Regions from separate parts of the Homo sapiens genome. Here all the other regions are linked to region 3. Evidence: promoter capture Hi-C in 16 types of primary human blood cells and fetal thymus (Javierre and others, 2016). All regions are on one chromosome and are shown on one strand. Each heading gives the region's core, a stretch centred on a gene start or on the middle of the fragment in contact. The rest is flanking DNA. Distances are from core to core; before and after follow the strand shown.

The links. The method cuts DNA at HindIII sites, captures the fragments that hold promoters and counts their contacts. A CHiCAGO score of 5 or more calls a contact.
Region 1: a contact is called between a fragment that was not itself captured here and the fragment with the promoter of RPL22 in region 3, in 2 of 17 cell types (fetal thymus and monocytes). The highest score is 6.5, in fetal thymus.
Region 2: a contact is called between a fragment that was not itself captured here and the fragment with the promoter of RPL22 in region 3, in 1 of 17 cell types (erythroblasts). The highest score is 5.0, in erythroblasts.

What each region holds. Positions count from the first base shown.
Region 1 is chr1:5,978,558-5,981,323 of GRCh38, forward strand. The region is part of intron 2 of NPHP4 (nephrocystin 4); the gene reads right to left. Among named protein-coding and RNA genes, the nearest start is that of NPHP4, 12 kb to the right of the region's middle. The HindIII fragment of the contact is 2,298 bases long and covers 246-2,543 here.
Region 2 is chr1:6,356,160-6,358,859 of GRCh38, forward strand. The region is part of intron 1 of ACOT7 (acyl-CoA thioesterase 7); the gene reads right to left. Among named protein-coding and RNA genes, the nearest start is that of ACOT7, 36 kb to the right of the region's middle. RefSeq lists enhancers at 941-1,908, 2,609-2,700. The HindIII fragment of the contact is 6,351 bases long and covers 1-2,700 here.
Region 3 is chr1:6,197,972-6,200,949 of GRCh38, forward strand. RPL22 (ribosomal protein L22) reads right to left here and starts at 1,624. Exons shown (of 4, transcript NM_000983.4): 1 at 1,591-1,624. The coding sequence starts at 1,602. RefSeq lists a silencer at 1,376-1,515. The HindIII fragment of the contact is 15,793 bases long and covers 504-2,978 here.

The sequences.
Region 1 (2,766 bases), core at 145-2,644, 220 kb before region 3:
CAGCTACTGGTCTTGGTGGGGTTATAAACCAAAGCATTTGGCCCTCCCCTGGCCAACGAAAGACTGCAGTCCCTTGGAACAGACACAGGCTTCTGACTCAGCCAGAGCCCAGGACGCACAAGAGGACATGACCACAGGAGACACATGCGCCTGCCAGGATGAGGCCCAGGGCTCCCAGCAGCCAACAGGTGAGAGAGAACAAGTCCAGGGGACATCACCTGAGACCTCGCTCAAGCCACACCTGAAGCTTATGCTGGCTGTGGATTTGCTGTGAGTCAACAAATCGCCTCTCACGTAAATCATTTTGGATGGGTTTGTTAATCATTTCCAACCAAATGAGCCCTTCCTGATATAACCAGAAACTAAATCCTCAACTTCCCAGATTTTGGGGTGACATTGGCAAAGCAAAAAGCAGATCTTTGAGAATTGAGAAATCATGGCTACAAATACAGAACAAAGCAGCCAGAGTGTAGACAGGCAGGACCCTGCCCAGAGCGGCAGCCAGAGTGTAGACAGGCAGGACCCTGCCCCGGAGCTTTACCACTTACAGCAAGTATTGCTTTAGCCTTTTCTCTTCTGTGACAGGTTCTTACCTGAGACAAGAGTCCTCCACCTTTCTTTCACCTATTCACTTAGTAAACGTTACTTACACATCTATTCTGCGCATTGACTCTCTGCCAGGCACATTTCCAGGCACTAGGGAAACAACAAGGAACAGACAAAATCTCTGCCCTTACAGGGCTTACATGGTGAAGAACGGGGAGAGAGGTGGGTGGGGCGGGGCAGGGCAGGGCAGGGCAGGCTCTCTGAGATGATCCTTGAGCTGAGAACAAGGGGGGCATGAGAAGAACCACAGGGAGTTTGGGGAGAGGGAGCCAGGCAGGAGGAGCAGCAAACTCAAAGGTCCTGAGAGGAAGAGAGCACACGTGCTCCAGGAGCCAGCGAGAAGTGCAGGAACTATATTTAGCTATAGTACCTGTGTTTTGTTTTTGTTTTTAAGAAAAGGGTCTCGTCTGTCACCCAGGCTGGAGGTCTGGCCACTGCAGCCTCCACCTCCCAGGCTCAAGCAATCCTCCTGCCTCATCCTGTCAAGTAGCTGGGACCACAGGTGCACTCCACCACACCCGGCTAATTTTTGTACTTTTTGTAGAGAGTGGGTTTTGCCAGGCTGGTCTTGATCTCCTGTCCTCAAGTGACCCGCCCGTCTCGGCCTCCCAAAGTGCTGGGGTTACAGGGGTAAGCCACCATGCCCGGCCTGTATTTTCTAATTTTCTGTATTACTGATGCTCTGGCATCTGGGGCCTCAGTGACGAGATAAGACTGTCCCCCAGAGCCGGTTAATTCCTAGGGTGGCAAATGGCAGGCCTATCAGAATGTGTCTGACATGAAAACCAACCCGTCCAGAGACCACATGCCCCACTACCTCTGTCTGGCTCACACACCCCAGGAGTCCCACCCTCTGCCATGGTCTCTCAGGGTCAGTGACCAGACACCTCGGGCCATCCCTGCACCTCAGAGACCACGACATGACTCTCCTTGGCCAACGCAAGCCCGTCCAGCTGCCCACCCTCCCTGGCCCAGTCCTCCCACAAAACCATAATCAAGTCTCTGCCCATGCCTCCCTTCCACCCTCCTGCCTCCTGACCAACCCTGCGCTTCCCCAGGTGGCCTGTGGGACATGGCCTACCCCTCGTCTTGGGAGCCCTGAGTAACAGACAGGGTCTCAGCTGAGTTGTCTCCTGATCCGCTGGCCTCACCACCCCTAAATGGAAACCAGTCCCAGGTACATTCTAAGCAGAAAGCCCACCGGACTGCAGCAGGCTGGGCCAGGGAGGAGAGAAGGAATGAGCGCCAGGCGCAAGAGCGTTCAGGCAGGCCTCACGGCGCGAGGAGAAGCTGGGTTCTCACTCCAATCATGCAGGGAGGCCAGGGAGAGATTCTAAGCAGAAATGACACAATCTGGTTCGGGATTTAAGAAAATTCCCGCAGCTGCCATGTGGGGGCGGGAGTGGAAGCAGGGGCCAATTAGGAGGAGGCGAGACAGGGAGGGGCAGGGAGGGTGACAGGAAGCAGGCACCGCTGGGCTCTGCTGCTTTGCAGGAGTGGCTGCGTGGTCATGAAGGGAGAAAAGTGGGAAGGGCCAGCTGCCTAGGTCGGCCCAGCCCTCCCAGGCCCAGTACTGAATCTCGCATCTCAAGTGAAGCAACGTGGAGGGAGGTGGTGTTATCCATGAGGACAGGGAAGGTGGGCAGAGCAGGTCTGAAGACTCCAAGCCCAGCTCCCATCACCACGCACCGGGGCCTGGCCCCCAGCTCCCATTACCACGCTACCTCCCTGTCCTCCTCCCTCTTCCCCTCAGTCTCTCTTCCTCCTCAGCTCCTCCCGCATCCAGACCTGCCCTCTGAGCCTGCCTCATCTCTCCCCAGAGCAACCCCCTGGCTTTTCCATGTTGACTGTCTGCTGCCCCCATCTACAACGTGAGCTCTCTGAGGACACAAGCCTGAAATAGTCTGTTCCCTGCTCTGTCCCTGGGGCCTAGGCAAAGCTTCTGCACGTGCCCCTCCTCACCCGGGACTGCCTGGGTTCCCCCAGCACCGCCACCTCCTCCTCCTCCTCTCCTGCACTCTCAGGAGGCCATTCTCAGGCAGGATCCCGTGGCTCCCAGAACCGTCGCTGGCTTGGGCTTCTTTCCAGAATGCCAGATCCTAACCACCCTCCCACCACCTCTATGCTACTTCACATCCAGTCTATTCAAATAAGAATCCA
Region 2 (2,700 bases), core at 46-2,545, 160 kb after region 3:
TCTCGACATGAGACACAGGAGGTCCAGGTGAAGATGAAGGCAGAGACGGGAGCAGCCTCCCGTCAAACCTTCGGGAGCATGGCCCTGCCCACCGCTGGTCTCCAGCCTGAGGAAACTGCTTCCGGTTGTCACCTGCCACCTGGTTTGTGGCCATGCCCGGAGGTCTCTGATGCTCCCAAAGAAAGCAGCACTGAGTGGCACAGGGGAGCCCCGAGGCAGCAGCGGCAGCACCCTCAGCACCCTCAGCCCTGCCCAGCACCCTCAGCCCAGCTCAGCACCCTCAGCCCCGCTCAGCACCCTCAGCCCAGCTCAGCACCTGCCACCCACACCTGGCCAGCCCTGGACAGGCCCCTGTGCGGTGACCTTGGCAGCAGCCCTGCAGGGCACTGAACCCTGCCTGCCCCTTCCACAGCCCAGCACACGACCAGCTGGGAGTGTCACCAGTGTCTCTGACTCTGACACAAAAATGTCAGTGCTGGCCAAGCGCAGTGGCTCACACCTGTAATCCCAGCACTTTGGGAGGCCGAGGCGGGCGGATCATGAGGTCAGGAGTTTGAGACCAGGCTGGCCAACATGGTGAAACCCCGTCTCTATTAAAAATAGAAAAAAAATAGCTGGGCGTGGTGGCAGGCTCCTATAATCCCAGCTACTTGGGAGGCTGAGGCAGGAGAATTGTTTGAACCCAGGAGGCGGAGGTTGCAGTGAGCCAAGATCATGCCATTGCACTCCAGCCTGGGCCACAGGGTGAGACTGTGTCTCAAAAAAAAAAAAAAGGACGACGACGACTACACTTTTGTGGCTGGACGCAGTGGCTCACGCCTGTAATCCCAGCACTTTAGGAGCTGAGGCAGGTGGATCACCTGAGGTCAGGAGTTTGAGACCAACCTGACCAACATGGAGAAACCCTGTCTCTACTAAAAATACAAAATTAGCCAACCATGGTGGCACATGCCTGTAATCCCAGCTACCTGGGAGGCTGAGGCAGGAGAATCGCTTAAACCCAAGAAGCGAAGTTTGTGGTGAGCCAAGATCGCGCCATTGCACTCCAGCCTGGGCAACAAGAGCGAAACTCCGCCTCAAAAAAAAAAAAAGTCAGTGCTAAAATGAAAACATTACTACGTGAAACCCAGGGTAACCAGGGGTAGGTGAGCCTTGCTTCCTTTACTCCATGGTGGAAGCTAAAGTGCCCACCTGAAGGTGCACAGCCAGGTAAGGGTCTGGGGTATAGGCAGGTCAGGCCCACACGGGGCCTGCAGGGCAGGCGGCTCATTACTGCCCCCTTCTGACAAAGGCCTCAAACCAGAGGTCAAGCACCAGGTGCGTGTGCTCCACCCTCACCTCAGCTGGAAAGCTGGGTGGGACAGAGGTGTCTGGGCAGACTGTCCCCAGTCATAGGGCTGCAGATGCCACTCATGGCTGGGGGCCACCACCTGGGGCCTGCAGACACTCGGAGCTTCCTTCAGGAGCTCAGCAGAGGCTGCCTTGGCCAGGAGTAGACAAGGGACAGGGGTTGCCCTTCCCGGAAGGAAAGGAGAAGCGGGTCTCCTTATGGCATGGGGGGCGGGGGCCTCACACCAGGCAGCCTTGAGGGACAAAACAGGCACGTGGATGGGTGTGGGGCCTCAAAGTCCAGGCACAAGCACACATAAATGCCTCCTCTTTCCATGGGGGACTCTGCCAAACAGAAGCTCAAGCAGCCCTGCTTCTCCTCTTTTTTTTTTTTTTGAGAGGGAGTCTCGCTCTGTCACCCAGGCTGGAATGCAGTGGCGTGATCTTGGCTCTCTGCAACCTCCACCTCCCGGGTTCAAGTGATTCTCCTACCTCAGCCTCCCAAGTAGCTGGGATTACAGGTGCGTGCCACCATGCCTGGCTAATTTTTGTATTTTTTAGTAGAGACGGGGGTTTCACCATGTTGGCCAGGCTGGTCTCAAACTCCTGACCTCAGTTGATCCACCTGCCTCGGCCTCCCAAAGTGCTGAGATTACAGGCGTGAGTCACAGAGTCTGGCCCCTGCTTCTCCTCTTTGACTTGCTGCCTAAGGCAGTTCCGGCGAAGTCCCTTCAACCCACAGACACGCCACTGCATCTCCAGAAGAGGGAAGGGTGGGAGGAAGGGCTGTGCCAAGGAAAGTTCCAGCAGCACTTGCAGGCCCCCAAGCAGGACGGGGGAAGAGGCCAACAATGGCCCTGAGCTCCCAGCCTCCATTTTGGCCAGGGGCAGGGGACTGACCCAGGAGGCTCCTTGTGCAGCCCACAGACCCCCCCTCCACCGCAGGTAGGAAGCTCAGCAGCGCTGGGAAACCGCAGTGAACCCAGCCCAGCTGAAGGGAGCAGAGGGAAGCCACAGGAGCAAGGCTGGAAAGAAAACCAGGTGCCTTCCTCCCTGGGGACTAGAGCAGGCAGGGGAGTGCCCTGGTCCGTCAGGGGACCCCAGCTCACGCAGGCCTGCACTTCCTATCCCAGCTTCGGCTGACCACCTAATCTTGGGGGTCAGTAAGAGCCAGGCCAGGTGGGTGCCCTACTGCCCTTCCTGGCTGCATGACACCAGCCAGCCTGCTGGGCACAGGGGCCGAGTCCCCTCTACCCACCCTTCCCTTCCAAATGTCCCTAAACAATCCACCCACAGTGGCCCCTGCACGGCCTAGACATGCCCATGACTGGCAGTACCTGCTCAGCTGGAAAGCCATGGTGGCTAGGACAT
Region 3 (2,978 bases), core at 374-2,873:
TGCCCTTTTGATGGGGAAATCATTCTAGCACTCTTGACTCACTCAAACTTTCCAGTCTCCCCAATCTCTACAGGCATGAAGGTCTCTTAGTTTATGAACCACAATAAAATGAACACTTCCTTTTGTTTGCCCTAACATTCCCAATTTCAAAAAAATACTATTTTTCCAAAATTAGAGTGCAGGCATACAAAATGCCTTGCATACCCACAATTTTCATATGAAATCAATCCTTGTCCTACATGTTCAGAGTAGGGTCCTGATCCGTCTTAGCTCATCTCCCTTAATCCTGTCTCATCCACCTTCTCATGAAGGGAGTTGCAAAGTATTCTAGGTGCCTGTCCACTCCAGCTTGGACAAGGTTAAGGCTAAAACCTAGAATCTTATTACAACACTACCGTCAAGAACTTCTGACATTTTGATTCGCTTCATCTATGCATTAGTACTTCCAAACCACCCGGCAAAGCACATCCTACAAGGTTCCAGTTTCTTCACTCTTACGAAGAAGCTTGTGTTAATCTTATCTCTCTACAAACTTGACACCATTAATGCACTTGTGCATCGTACCAACCTGTACTTTCACGTTTAAAAGCTCTGCAGAACTAAATAGACTTTTCCAAAAACACATCTTACCTCCCTTCATGTTTAAAAGAACTTCATCTAAAACTTGTGTTAACTGGATCAACTTTTCAAACATTTGGCCACTACAAAAATCACTGATTTATTTTTTACAACGTCTCTTCGCAGTAATAATCTAAGAGGGGTACTTTAAGATCTATTCCGAACACACACAATCAATCAAGAGACCTACCCACAACGGGCTTGATACTTCTCCATCAAGGTTTTAAACCAAAAGGCATTCAAAAGCCCAACCAGACAGAAAGAGCAGAAGAACCGGAAATGTTAACCAGGGAGTCCCAACAAAAGAGGAAAAGTAGGATCTTGGGACGAAGAACACGGAAAAACAACTTTCTCAAATAACCTAGGAGGAGGGCGCCGCACAGCCCAGTCCCAGCATAGCTAAAGGAGAATGCAATGAGAGCCTTCTCCCTACACCACTGCAACACCCGTTTGGGTCTGTACAGTGCGCCCTGATAAACTAATTTCCTCTGGGGACGCTAAAAAGCTCCTCAAACCCAGGCCTCCTCTCCGAAAGCACGCCGACCAAGCCGCCCTTCCGCGGATTCGTCCCCGAGTCTTGGCCGTGGACTTCCGAATGCGCGGCTCCCCAGGGTAGCAGGTCCCGTTCTTCTTCCCCGCCCTCCACCCAGGTAATCAGGCCCCCGGCCGGGGTCCGAGGACCAGTGGCCGGCCCAGACCGCAGTCTCCAGGCTCCAGCTCCCCGCTAGCCCCTAGCTGGGGCCCCGGGCCTCCGAGACCTCCCGGATCTCCCTCACGAGCCTCGGGCCGCGGCCTCCTCCGCCTACAACGTGCTGGGATCGGCAGGGGCTCTGGCCCGCTCCGGCCGACCTGCCAGCCCACCCCAGCAGGACGCTGCAGGGCGCCGTCCCCAGCGAGCCTGGGTAGATGCCGGGCTCGGCGAGGCCCACGTGCCTCCCCTGGAGCCGAGGCCTCACGCGGAGCCATACTAACCACAGGAGCCATGGCGGCAGCGGAGTTAGAAAGGGAGGTGAGCGAACTACGCAGACGCAAAGAGCCCGCAGCGCGCAAGGCACGCAGGGTCCAGGCCGCACTAATCACTTTGCCACGCCCCTCGTCCGCCACCTTTTCTCTTGGTTATGTACGATAGGGGAGCGATTGGTTTTTCCTGAATGCAAAACGCGTCCTCTCCCAGGCCTGGAGGGTTTCTGGGGAAGGAAGGAGGCCCGGCGGGCTGTCCCACTGCGAACGATCGGAGGGGGGAAGCCAGACTGGACGAGCCCAAAGATAAATAAAGGGGTTGGCTTTACTTTTTGAAAGTCTTGGGAAGAAAAAAGAAATAAGGAAATTCACTATACTGTAAATTACCAGCTAGTGGGATGGAAATCGAATCTACTAATTTGGGGAAGTGGGAAAATTCCTTGTAGCCACCGGGAAATTTCGTTCAGAGGTCCCAATGCCAGACCACTATGGCTTCCTCAAAAAGCCCCAGCTTGGAAGCTCATGCCCAGGGGCTGTCTCCCAGTGCCTGTCCTTTTTGCTGTAGCCAGGCCGCCCCCTCGCTGATCACCACTCCCTAGTTTCCCAGCCCAAGCCTTCTAGTTTCCCATCCCAAACCAGTAAGTAGTTGAGGACCACCAGGAGATCTGGAAAATGCAGATTCCAATTCCAGCGGTCTCAGTGGCCTGAAATTCTGCATTTCTCACAAGCTCTCAGACGATGCTGATGCTGCGAGTCCATGGACCGCATGTGGAGAAGCAAAGGTCCTCATCCCCAGGCCCACAGGTCCCTTGAACTGGGCTACTTTGCACCCAGTCACCCGCTGCGTCCTCACGGAATTATATTCCAGGATCCTGAATTGTAAATCACTCAGTGGCACACACACTCTCCACTCCCTTTACCTGGCTTCAGTGTACTCACCTAGCAAAAGTCCAATCACCAGAAGAGACTGTGCTGATGGGTCTAGCTTTCAACTCAGGCCTCAAGCCGGTTGACCAAGCTCCAAAGCCAGCTGCTGTTCTTGGCTCTATAATGATCAGGCTGGGCCTCTGCAAACACTTCTGCTTTCCAGCTGATCCCGGTTTGGCTCTATCAATAGGGGGCTTTGCTTCCTGCTTGCTCCTGTCCTGTCTGGTGTCATCCACTCTTGCTTCTTTATCCTGGAGGTGGCAGTTGGAACATTCTGGAAGCAGCAGTGGAATCCAGTCTGCACTTATTCCAACATTTGCAGAACCAGCCTCGTTTTCTCCTCAGAGACACCAGCCCTAGCAGAGCAGCACCCTCTCCTCAGATGTCTGAGTTTCACCTCCCTGTGCCCCTCCTCAAGCATCTACATTTTAATAATACCACCTACCAGTGGTAGCTACTTCCTGCAGTTGCTA